2 separate regions of the Homo sapiens genome follow, and region 1 is linked to region 2. Evidence: promoter capture Hi-C in human tissues and cell types (Jung and others, 2019). All regions are on one chromosome and are shown on one strand. The core of a region is centred on a gene start or on the middle of the fragment in contact, and the rest is flanking DNA. Distances in the headings are between cores, read along the strand shown.

Region 1 (5,628 bases), core at 2,395-4,894, 380 kb before region 2:
ACAGGCAGCTGTGGCTGTCCCAGGTGGAACAGATTTGGGAGAAGCAGAACCCAAGATCTGTAGTTGGAAGATTGTCCTGATTCAAGGACAGTGTTACCCTTACTGTTTTATCTCCACTGCCTAGCAGTGTGTCTGACATGTAGTAGATGCTCACGTTTGACAAAGAAATGGGCAAAAATGTCAGATCCAAGGGTCCTATGTAGAACTGACAGATCTTGGTGACGGGCAGTTAGGGAAGGTAAAAGGGAGAGAATAGAGTTGGATGCTCGGTCCTTTGTGCATCAAGCCTTCGGCAAAGGGAAGGAAAGAAATGGTTGCTGACTTAGTTCCTAGGAGGGACTTTCTTAGTGAACTAAGCATTTGGTGACTTAAAGCCAGATTCCTGACAGTGTAATTGAAGTTGGTAATATGCAGTGGTCAGCATTTCCTTTGGAGTTTAGAGAACTGATTGGACACTTTTTCTCTCTTAGTTTTCTTTTTCCTTCTTTTTTTTTTTTTTTAAAGATATGCTCTAGTGGTTAAGATTCTATGCTATCCTAAACTGCTTGAGTGTGAGTTTAGCTTTGTGATCTCAGACAATGTATATAACTACCACCACTGCCCGGCCTCAGTTTTCTCCTTTGTAAAAGTTGCATAATATAATTTATAATGCTATGTGGCATCTTTAGGATTACATTAAAGAGTGTCTATAAAGTGCTTACAGTTATATTAAGTATCTAGTGAATTCCAGCTACTATTAGTGGGAGAAAGGAGTTACAAGGCCTTTAGGCTTTGAAGTGTACTGAGTAAATTGAGGTTTTAGGCGGGAGCTCTCTTTCTGATGTATTATACAGAGATATATAGGCAGTCAGCTATGACAGATTGATGAGAGGAAAATAAACTGGCCCCAGCCTTGCGGAAAGCGTCTATGGAGGATGGGCACAGGCAAAAACCAGAGGGGTTAGGGCTAAGCCTTGGATGACTCCTTTGGTTGTTAAGAGATCCAGAAAAGAGACGTAGGTTTAGAGGCAGGAAGAAACCAGCTGGGTGAAGTGATATTGAGGTAACCAGCTGTGGGGGATATTGAGGAAGAACAGGTGGTCATGAAGGAGGCAGCACAAGTGGAGCTGTTGAAAAGCTCTCAATCATGAGGGCTGAGTCGGGGAAGAGAACAGGAGAGACAAGCCACAGAGAGAGTACAGCAGTAAGGCACTATTATGGTGTTTTGTTGTTTTTGAGACAGTCGCTCTGTCACCCAGGCTGGAGTGCAGTGGTGCGATCTCGGTTCACTGCAACCTCCGCCTCCTGGGTTCAAGCAGTTATCCTGCCTCAGCCTCCCGAGTAGCTGGGATTACAGGCGCCCACCACCGTGCCCAGCTAACTTTTTGTATTTTTAGTAGAGACGGGGTTTCACCATGTTGGCCAGACTGGTCTGAAACTCCTGACCTCAGGTGAGCCACCCGCCTTGGCCTCCCAAAGTGCTGGAATTACAGGTGTGAACCACCGCACCCGGTGACAAGTTATTTCTTGTAGGAGAAGAAAGAGACATGGGTGAATTAAAGGGAAGCTTTCTGGAGAAGTAATTTTATTGGTAGCAGTGGTGGAGGGAAGTTTAGGGAAATCTCATGCATGATAGTTAATTGTACTGCACATTTGCTGTATACCAGGTACACTTTCAGATCCCAGCAGTAGCTCCACAGGTTAAGTGGTAGTGTCATATTTCAGATGAGAATGGATCGGTGTGGAAGTTGAGCAGTGTCACTAAGGTAGCAAGGTAATAAATGGCTCAAGTGCAGCTTCAAACGTAGGTCTGCTTGACTTCAAATGTTTCTGGAATGTGGAAAGTTGAAAGTGGGTTTGGGACAGTCTTTCACTTTTGAAAACTGGCCCTTTTTCTGTCTGGAGTTCCTGAAAGGCCCTAGAAAGTTTCCTTCTGAAGCATCGTGTTGCTTAGTTTAGTTGTTGTAGTAAGTCAAGGCCCTACATGTCCTTTCTGCATGTTTCCACAGCAACAGACGATCCCTTGGCTTGAGCCAGTTGATTCTTGTAAGAATGTTAGTGCAGTAATACAGTAACTAATAAAGAGGAAAGCAGATGCCAGTGGGTCTGGAGGAGCCTTCAGACAGCATGTGATTTTTAAGGAGATGTGGGATGAGGATTGCTTCTTGTTTTGTATATGGAGTAGTGATCAAAGTCTCTCATATTCCAGCCCAGGGCTGGACTATATTAGTGGATAGTTGGTATGTCAATTGTACTATATTAACCATAATGTAGGCCTGGCCAGACTAGCCACTGTAGGATCTAGGATTTAAAACTATCTCACTCTTCTGTCTTACACAAAAATAAATTCCAGGTGGATTAAAGAGAGACATTTAAAAAGTAAAAGAAGAAAAGTGAGTATTTGTCTATCTCATAATAGGAAAGGCCTTCAGCATAAAAGCAGATACAGAAATCATGAAGAAAAAGTCGATCATGTCTACATACACAAATTAAGTTGTTCCAAGTGTTAAATACCATAAACCAAATCAAAAGAGAAACTAGGGAAAATATTTGACTATTAGAGAGCAAATACTTAGAGATCAAAAAATAGCAGGAAAATAGGCAAACTCAGAAAATTCAGTAAAGAAGAAAATCAGGTGTCGGGTATGTGATTACCTCACTGGAAATAAGATTGGCACAACAAAGCCACCATGAGTTTGTTTTTTTTTTCCATTATCAAATTAGCAAAAATTTTAAAACATGATCAAGCACAGTCCCTAGTATCAGGGAAGGTCTAAGAAATGGGGCACTTGTGCTGCTAGTAGTAATATAAACTGGTAGACTAATAGGAACAAGTGGGTAGAATTTTAGAAGTCTTTGAAATACATATCCTGGGCCAGGTGCGGTGGCTCACGCCTGAAATCCCAGCACTTTCGGAGGCTGAAGTGGGCGGATCACCTGAGGTCAGGAGTTTGAGACCAGCCTGACCAACATAGTGAAACCTCGTCTCTACTAAAAAATACAAAAATTAGCCGGGCATGGTGGCACGTGCCTGTAATCCCAGCTATTCGGGAGGCTGAGGCAGGAGAATCACTTGAACCTGGGAGGCGGAGGTTGCAGCAAGCCGAGATCGCGCCAGTGTACTCTAGCCTGGCCAACAGCGTGAGACTCCGTCTCAAAAAAAATAAAAAAATACATATCCTGGCTGGGCGCAGTGGCTCATGCCTGTAATCCCAGCACTTTGGGAGGCTGAGGTGGGTGGATCGTCTGAGGTCAGGAGTTCGAGACCATCCTGGCCAACGTGGTGAAACCCCCGTCTCTACTAAAACTACAAAAAAAATTAGGTGGGCATGATAGCTCACGCCTGTAGTCCCAGCTACTCAGGAGGCTGAGGCAAGAGAATCACTTGAACAACCCAGGAGGTGGAGGTTGCAGTGAGCCAAGATTGCACCACTGTACTCTAGCCTGGGCAACAGAGCAAGACTCTCTCTCAAAAAAAAATAAAATACATATCCTGTGATCCAGCAATTCCTTTTTTTTCTTTCTTTTTTCTTTTTTTTTTTTTTTATTTTTTGAGATGGAGTCTCGCTCCGTCACCCAGGCTGGAGTGCAGTGGCGCGATCTTGGCTCACTGCAACCTCTGCCTCCCGAGTTCAAGCAATTCTCCTCTTTCAGCCTCCTGAGTAGCTGGGATTACAGGCTCATGCCACCACCCTGGCTAATTTTTGTATTTTTAGTATATGGAGGTGGGTTTCACCATGTTGGCCAGGCAGGTCTTGAACTCCTGACCTCGAGTGATCCTCCCACCTTGGCCTCTCAAAGTGCTGGGATTATAGGTGTGAGCCACCGCGCCCAGCTGTAACCCAGCAATTCTACACCAAGAAATTTATTACAGAGGCGAAATTGAATATGCTTCCCCCATGCTTTCACTAGTTTGATAAACTTCATATTTCCAAAACTTTATAGAGTGCTTAAAAAACTACATAGGTAGGTGGCACATGCCTTAAAGTGGTAAAAGGCCACTGACAAACTATAAGAAACTCATTTTTGTACTGACATATAGGAGTAAAAGTCAACTAGGAAAATTAAGAAAAATATGAGAGGCCAGGCATGGTGGCTCATGCCTGTAATCCAATACTTTGGGAGACCGAGGCGGGTGGATCGCTTGAGTCCAGGAAATCGATAGCAGCCTGGGCAGCATGGCGAAACCCCCTTCCTACAAAAAAATAGAAAAATTATCCAGGCGTGGTGGCGCATGCCTGCAATCCCAGCTCCTGTGGGGACTGAGGTGGGAGGTTCGCTTGAGCCCAAAAGGTCGAGGCTACAGTAAGCCATGATTGGGCCACTTTGCTCCAGCCTGGGCGACAGAGCAAGACTGTCTCAAAGATGAAGCTGCAGGTCTCTGCTCACTATGGGTGATTCCAGGCCACACTTTTTTTTTTCCCTCATGCAGAATTTTCATAGAGAAACACTGTTCTCTTTCTGCTAGTCTTCCATTTGTTACCACTGTAAAATAGAAAACAGAAAATAAAATCAAAAGCTTTTGGACTTGGGAGCTTAAGGACAGATGTGTACACATTTTGGTGAAATTTGTATATAAGCACATCTTGGTTTTATTTGTTGTATATAGCACCTACCACAGGGATAGCATTTAGTAGCTCAAGGTTCATACAGCATATGATGCTGTATTCTACTGTACAACCCTTTGGCCCAGTGTTTGACCAGTCCTTATTGATAGACCAAAATCTTATGTCTTGCAGATGCTGTTGATGGAGTAATGAATGGTGAATACTACCAGGTACAGAGTACTCTGATTCTGTTCATTGATAGTGATTGAGAATCTTCCTTTCCTGTGATTTTAATTGACTGACCTAGAAAGAAACCCCAGTCCTTTGACTTTCCTGAATGTATTACTGGCTGGTGTGTTATCTACCAAAGTGGAAAGATTTAAAGAGAGGTAGCATTGATAAAAAGAGAACTGTTTAAAAATGTTATTTACCTGCCCCTAGTGTTATCACCTTTATTCTAAAGAAATCACCATTCAAATGATACTGTGTTGAGTGCAGTAAGTTAATACTAATACTTTAAATAATTCTCCTTCCATCTTTGTTTATAGTCTGATTAGGTTAACCTGGTAATATTAATATTCCTTAGTTCAGTGAGTGGCATATGGAATAATTTTGTAAAGATTAACATTTATTTGAGTCTTTTTTTTTTTTTTTTTTTTTGAGACAGTCTCACTGTCGCCCAGGCTAGAGTGCAGTGGCACGATCTTGTCTCATTGCAACCTCCACCTTCTGGGTTCAAGCGATTCATCCACTTCAGCCTCCTGAGTAGCTGGAATTACAGGCGCATGCCACCACGCCCGGCTAATTTTTTGTATTTTTAGTAGAGATGGGGTTTCGCCATGTTGGCCAGGCAGGTCTTGAACTCCTGGGCTCAAGTGACCATCCCGCCTTGGCCTCCCAAAGTGCTGGGATTACAGGCGTGAGCCACCGCACCCCGCCAGAGCCACCGCAACCTTGGCTCACTGCAGAACCCGTTTCTAACAACAATGGCGGCTTTTGTAAAATGTTAAAGGATTACCTTAAAAGCAACAACACAGGCCGGGCACGGTGGCTCACGCCTGTAATTCCAGCACTTTGGGAGGCTGGGGTGGGTGGATCATTT
Region 2 (5,116 bases), core at 728-3,227:
TGGAAGTAACTGCAGATTTGGTGGAAACAGCAAGAGAACTAGAATTGGAAGTGAAGCCTGAATATGTGACTGAACTGCTGCAATCTCATGATCCAACTTGAATAGATGGGGAGTTTCTTCTTACGGATGAGCAAAGAGAGAGTGCTTTCTTGAGATGGAAGCTCCTCTTGGTGAAGATGCTGTGATCATTGCTGAAATAACAACAAAAGATTTAGAATATTCCATAAACTTTGTTGATAAGGCAGTGGCAAGATTTCAGAGAACTAACTTTGAAGGAAGTCCTGCTGTGGATGAAATGGTATCACACAGCATCACATGCTACAGAGAAATCTTTCATGAAAGGAAGTGTCCATCGATGCAGCATTGTTGTTTTATTTTAGGAAATTGCCACAGCCATCCCAACGTTTAGCAACCACCACCCTGATCAATCAGCAGCATGGAGGCAAGACCCTCCACCAGCAAAAAGATTATGATTTGCTGAAGATTCAGATGACCATGTTAAATTAAGTTTAGCATAAAGCTGCCTCCTTATGCATTTTAAGTTCAGACTAACAATTTATTTCTTTCTCTCTCTCCCTTTCTCTCCCTTCCTTTCCTTTCCCTTCCCTTCCCTTCCCCTCCCTTCCCCTCCCTTCCCCTTCCCTTCCCCTTCTCTTCCTTTCTTTCTTTTCTCTCTCTCTTTCTCTCTTTCTCTTTTTTTGAGACGGAGTCTTGCTCTGTTGCCCAGCCTGGAGTGCAGTGGCACGATCTCTACTCACTGCAACCTCTGCCTCCCAGCAGAGAGAATCAAGAGATTCTCCTGCCTCTACCTCCTGAGTAGCTGGGATTATAGGCTCGCGCCACCAAGCCCGGCTAATTTTTTGTATTTTTAGTAGAGACAGGGTTTCATCATGTTGGTCAGGCTGGTCTCGAACTCCTGACCCCAAATGATCTGCCCCCGCCCCCCCACCAAAGTGCTGGGATTATAGATGTGAGCCTTTGCACCTGGCCTAACAGTTTCTCCATACATAGTGAATTGTAGACAACTACAATTGTAAATGTGTAAAGAGACTGTAACCTTGTAACAAGTAGCGAGTCTCAGTCAATCACAGCAGCGGAGTTTTGGCCAATCACAGGTGGCCAACTGTTTAAACAGTGCTCAAAATAGTCAGAGGTTGAGTTGCAACCAATCCAGCTGTTTCCATACTTGACTGCAATTTCTGTAAGTCATTTTCCTTTTTCTGTCCATAAATGTTATTTGAACATATGGCAGCCCGAATCACTCTGAACCTATTTTGGTTCCAGGGATTACTGGATTTTGGACTCATTCTTTGGTCAATTCAACTCTGTAAAGTTTAATTTGTCTAAAGATTTTCTGGGCCGGATACAGTGGCTCACGCCTGTAATCCCAGCACTTTGGGAGGCTGAGGCGGGAGGATCGCTTGAGCCCAGGAGTTCGAGACCAGCCTGGCCAACATAGCGAGATCCCGTCTCTACCCACAAATAATTTAGCCAGGCGTGGTGGCGCGTGCCTGTAGTCTCAGCTACTGGGGTTCTTATTCCTCGTGGCAACACATTTTGGAGAGGGGGAGGTATTCCTGTCTTTGCTGGGTGGGAGAACGGCCAGTGGGCAAGGGAGGACGAAAATGAGAACTGTGACTGCCAGAGGGCACGTCAATTTTAGGAAGAGAACGTAAGAAAGTTGGGTTCTGTGGAGACTTGGCATATCCACGCCACCTGGAAAATCATCACGTGCCCTCCGGGGCAAGACCAAGGCCTCAAGTCACCCCTCGCAGCCCAGTGGACCTCCCGGCCATCCCTTTCACGGCTCCACAGCGACCGCGAGCCGTTGCCCCGGTGAGAACCCCCCGGCACTGTGCGCGCCCCCGCCTGCCGTGCGCGTCCGCTTCCCTGGGATCCGGCGCCGCGCGCGCCCCCGCCGCGTCCCCGCCCCTTCCGGCCCGGGAGATTTGATTCCCTTGGCGGGCGGAAGCGGCCACAACCCGGCGATCGAAAAGATTCTTAGGAACGCCGTACCAGCCGCGTCTCTCAGGACAGCAGGCCCCTGTCCTTCTGTCGGGCGCCGCTCAGCCGTGCCCTCCGCCCCTCAGGTCAGTTCTCCCGCCTGCCCGCCGCAGTCGCAGTTGATGGCTGGGGTCTGGGCTGTGCGGGGCGCAGCGGCCCAAACCCAGTTTGCTCCTGGCTCTCGGGAGACTGGAGGATTTCATCGGAGCCCCGCGCTTTACCAGCCCTGTTCCCTGGATAAGATATTTGACCTTTCCGACCCGCGGTTTTCTTCTCCGTAAGTGGGGATAATGACCGTGTCTACTTAACAGGGTTATTGAAGAGGTGTTCAGGCTAAGCGTTTGCCACCTAGGAGGCTGCGATAGACGTGAATTCCCATTTCCCGTTTCCAGTTTCCGTGACTCTTCCCCGCGAAAAAAGTTGACAGAAGGGTTTCGAGTTTTTTCTGTTTGTACAACTCAGTTTACTGGGGCAGTGCAATAAAAAAGGAGATGTGTTATCACTACCTTTTCAGAGTCCAAATCCATCCTCTCCTATCATCTCCCCAGAGTAGTGGCTTCAGAGGCTCACACTAAAAGGGGAATTTTTTTTCTTTTTCTTCAAGACGGAGTTTCGCTCTTGTTGCCCAGGCTGGAGTGCAATGGCGCGATCTCGGCTCACCGCAACCTCCGCCTCCCAAGTTCAAGCGATTCTTCTGCCTCAGCCTCCCGAGTAGCTGAGCTTACAGACATCCGCCACCACGCCCGGCTCATTTTTTGTATTTTTAGTAGAGACGGGGTTTCACCACGTTGGCCAGGCTGGTCTCCAGCTCGTGTCCTCAGGTGATCCGCCCGCCTTGGCCTCCCAGAGTGCTGGGATTACAGGCGTGAGCCACCACGCCCGGCCTAAAAGGGGAATTTTCACCGAATGCTGTATCAGTAATAGGAGCAGCAGGATTGCTCCCACCAAGAAACCTGGTGTAGGGTTGTGGGAGCTGGAAAGGGTAGACTCAGGGAAGGCTGCCCAAGAGAGGAATCAGGTCCCTAGCACTTAGGACGGGTAATTACCTTTGGTATTTCTCCTTTGTTAGTGGAATGAGGTGAGTATCAGGAGCCTGGATTGTTGTTTAGAGGCCAGTGTTCCTAACTTTGGTTTAAATTTTGGTTTCTGTTTCCCATGGAGTCTGGCTAGAAAATCAGAAAAATCAGAAAAGCCCTTACTGGGCCTTCGTGGGCTTGTTTCTCCCAAGGGTCTGTCCTTTCTGTGTAACTACTGTGGACCAACTAGATGGGCAGATCAATCCCAATGAGTGCCTCATTGTTGGTGCTCCCAGAAGCCTTTGCAAGGGAGCAGGGCAGGATGCTAATTAAATGTGTTACAGGCCACATTATAAACCATTCTGAGCCCGGCGTGGTGGCTCACGCTTGTAATCCCAGCACTTGGGGAGGCCGAGGTGGGCGGATCACTTGAGGCCAGGAGTTCTAGACCAGCCTGGCCAACATGGCGAAACCCCGTCTCTACTAAAAATACAAAAAAAAAAAAAAAAAAAAAAATTAACCGGGCATGGTGGCGCATGCCTGTAATCCCAGCAACTGGGGAGGCTGAGGCACGAGCATCTCTGGAACCCAGGAGGCGGAGGTTGCGGTGAGCCGAGATCTAGCTACTGCACTCCAGCCTAGGTGACAGAACGAGACCCTGTCTCAAGCAAATAAACAGACAAAACCCAAAAAACCATTCTGTATTCTACTTCCTGTTTGAAATTATCCTCAGCATCAGTGTCTTTCCAAGCTCTGTAGATAAGGTAAATGTATTTATGCGGCAAGTAATAGAATAGCCCAAATAATATTGTTAAAAAATGCCCCCAATTTGTTGCTATCCTTTAAAATTTAACCATAAACGTCTTCTCATTATCCCAATTCCTTGCTCTTCTGAGAAGTTAAAGACCCCAATTATAGGCCGGGCGCGGTGGCTCACGCCTGTAATCCCAGCACTTTGGGAGGCCGAGGCAGATGGATTGTGAGGTCAGGAGTTCAAGACCAGCCTGGCCAAGATGGTGAAACCCCATCTTTACTAAAAATACAAAAAATTAGCCGGGCGTGGTGGCGCACACCTGTAATCCCAGCTACTTGGGAGGCTGAGGCAGAATTGCTTGAACTCAGAGGGCGGAGGTTGCAGTGAGCCGAGATTACGCCACTGCACTCCAGCCTGGGCAAGAGAGCAAGACTCCGTCTCAAAAACAAAAACAAAAACAAAACCCAATTATATATACCCCCAATTCTTCTATTTATTTAGTCAAGCCCAGAAGGGCACTCAGGTGTCTGATTGGGGTCTAATTTCCTTCTTCATTATTCACAGTTGAGAGGCTGTCTTCCGCGTTGACTGATAATATACCTCCTTCAGCAGCTACAAAGTTGGGTTACTCTGTTCTCAAGGCTTTTCTGTATTCTATATTAACAAACTCTAGAGGATAAACAGGGCACATGAGAATATTTAGAACCAGCTCCACATTCACAAAGATTTACAAATCAAGTATAATCTGCTATTAGTGTAGGAGTTTGTAATGTAAGCACCAGTTTTCTCACATTGCAGCAACAACGATATTCCCTTGATTCAGTAGCTATAATCTAGGCCCACATTGGTATTACTCATCCAAAGACATGATGTAATTTGAGAGAAGCGGGTAGATAGAGAAAATGGAAGAAAGAAAGAAAAAAAAAAGTGCATGGCTTCAGTCTTACCTTAGTTGTTAAATAAACAACTTGCCCATCTCTGCTAGTTTTCCAGAGGCCATGACTGGGATGTTTATAACTCTTTTGGGAGAAGTCTATTAAGTTAATTATGACACTCTTAAATCCCTAATCTGGGAAGTGAATTCCAGCATCTTACAAATTGCTTTCTCTTTCTGAGTGACAATTTGAAATAGCCCAGTCCTTTGCATGGAATGTAAACATGTGCATTCAGATTTATAGTCCAGTGTTCCTCCATTTCCATTCTCCTGCTCTCTTTTTTCTTCTGTATCAGGATTCCAAAGATTTCTGAGCCTTAGGTTGACCTCTATACTTTTACTGTTTTTATTGCCTTTTGGAATTTCTTAGTCCTATGGTTCCTGTTTGTTTTTAGGATGAGGTTCCAG

Evidence for each region. The method cuts DNA at HindIII sites, captures the fragments that hold promoters and counts their contacts. A contact is called where the count stands out against the background at its distance.
Region 1: a fragment that was not itself captured here is called in contact with the fragment with the promoter of MELK in region 2 in 1 of the 25 tissues and cell types used here (H1 embryonic stem cells).

The regions. Positions count from the first base shown.
Region 1 is chr9:36,192,833-36,198,460 of GRCh38, forward strand. CLTA (clathrin light chain A) reads left to right here. Exons shown (of 5, transcript NM_001833.4): 2 at 4,719-4,756. Among named protein-coding and RNA genes, the nearest start is that of CLTA, 4.7 kb to the left of the region's middle. The HindIII fragment of the contact is 6,945 bases long and covers 173-5,628 here.
Region 2 is chr9:36,570,918-36,576,033 of GRCh38, forward strand. MELK (maternal embryonic leucine zipper kinase) reads left to right here and starts at 1,978. Exons shown (of 18, transcript NM_014791.4): 1 at 1,978-2,090. RefSeq lists an enhancer at 697-1,196 and a silencer at 1,780-2,059. The HindIII fragment of the contact is 26,418 bases long and covers 1-5,116 here.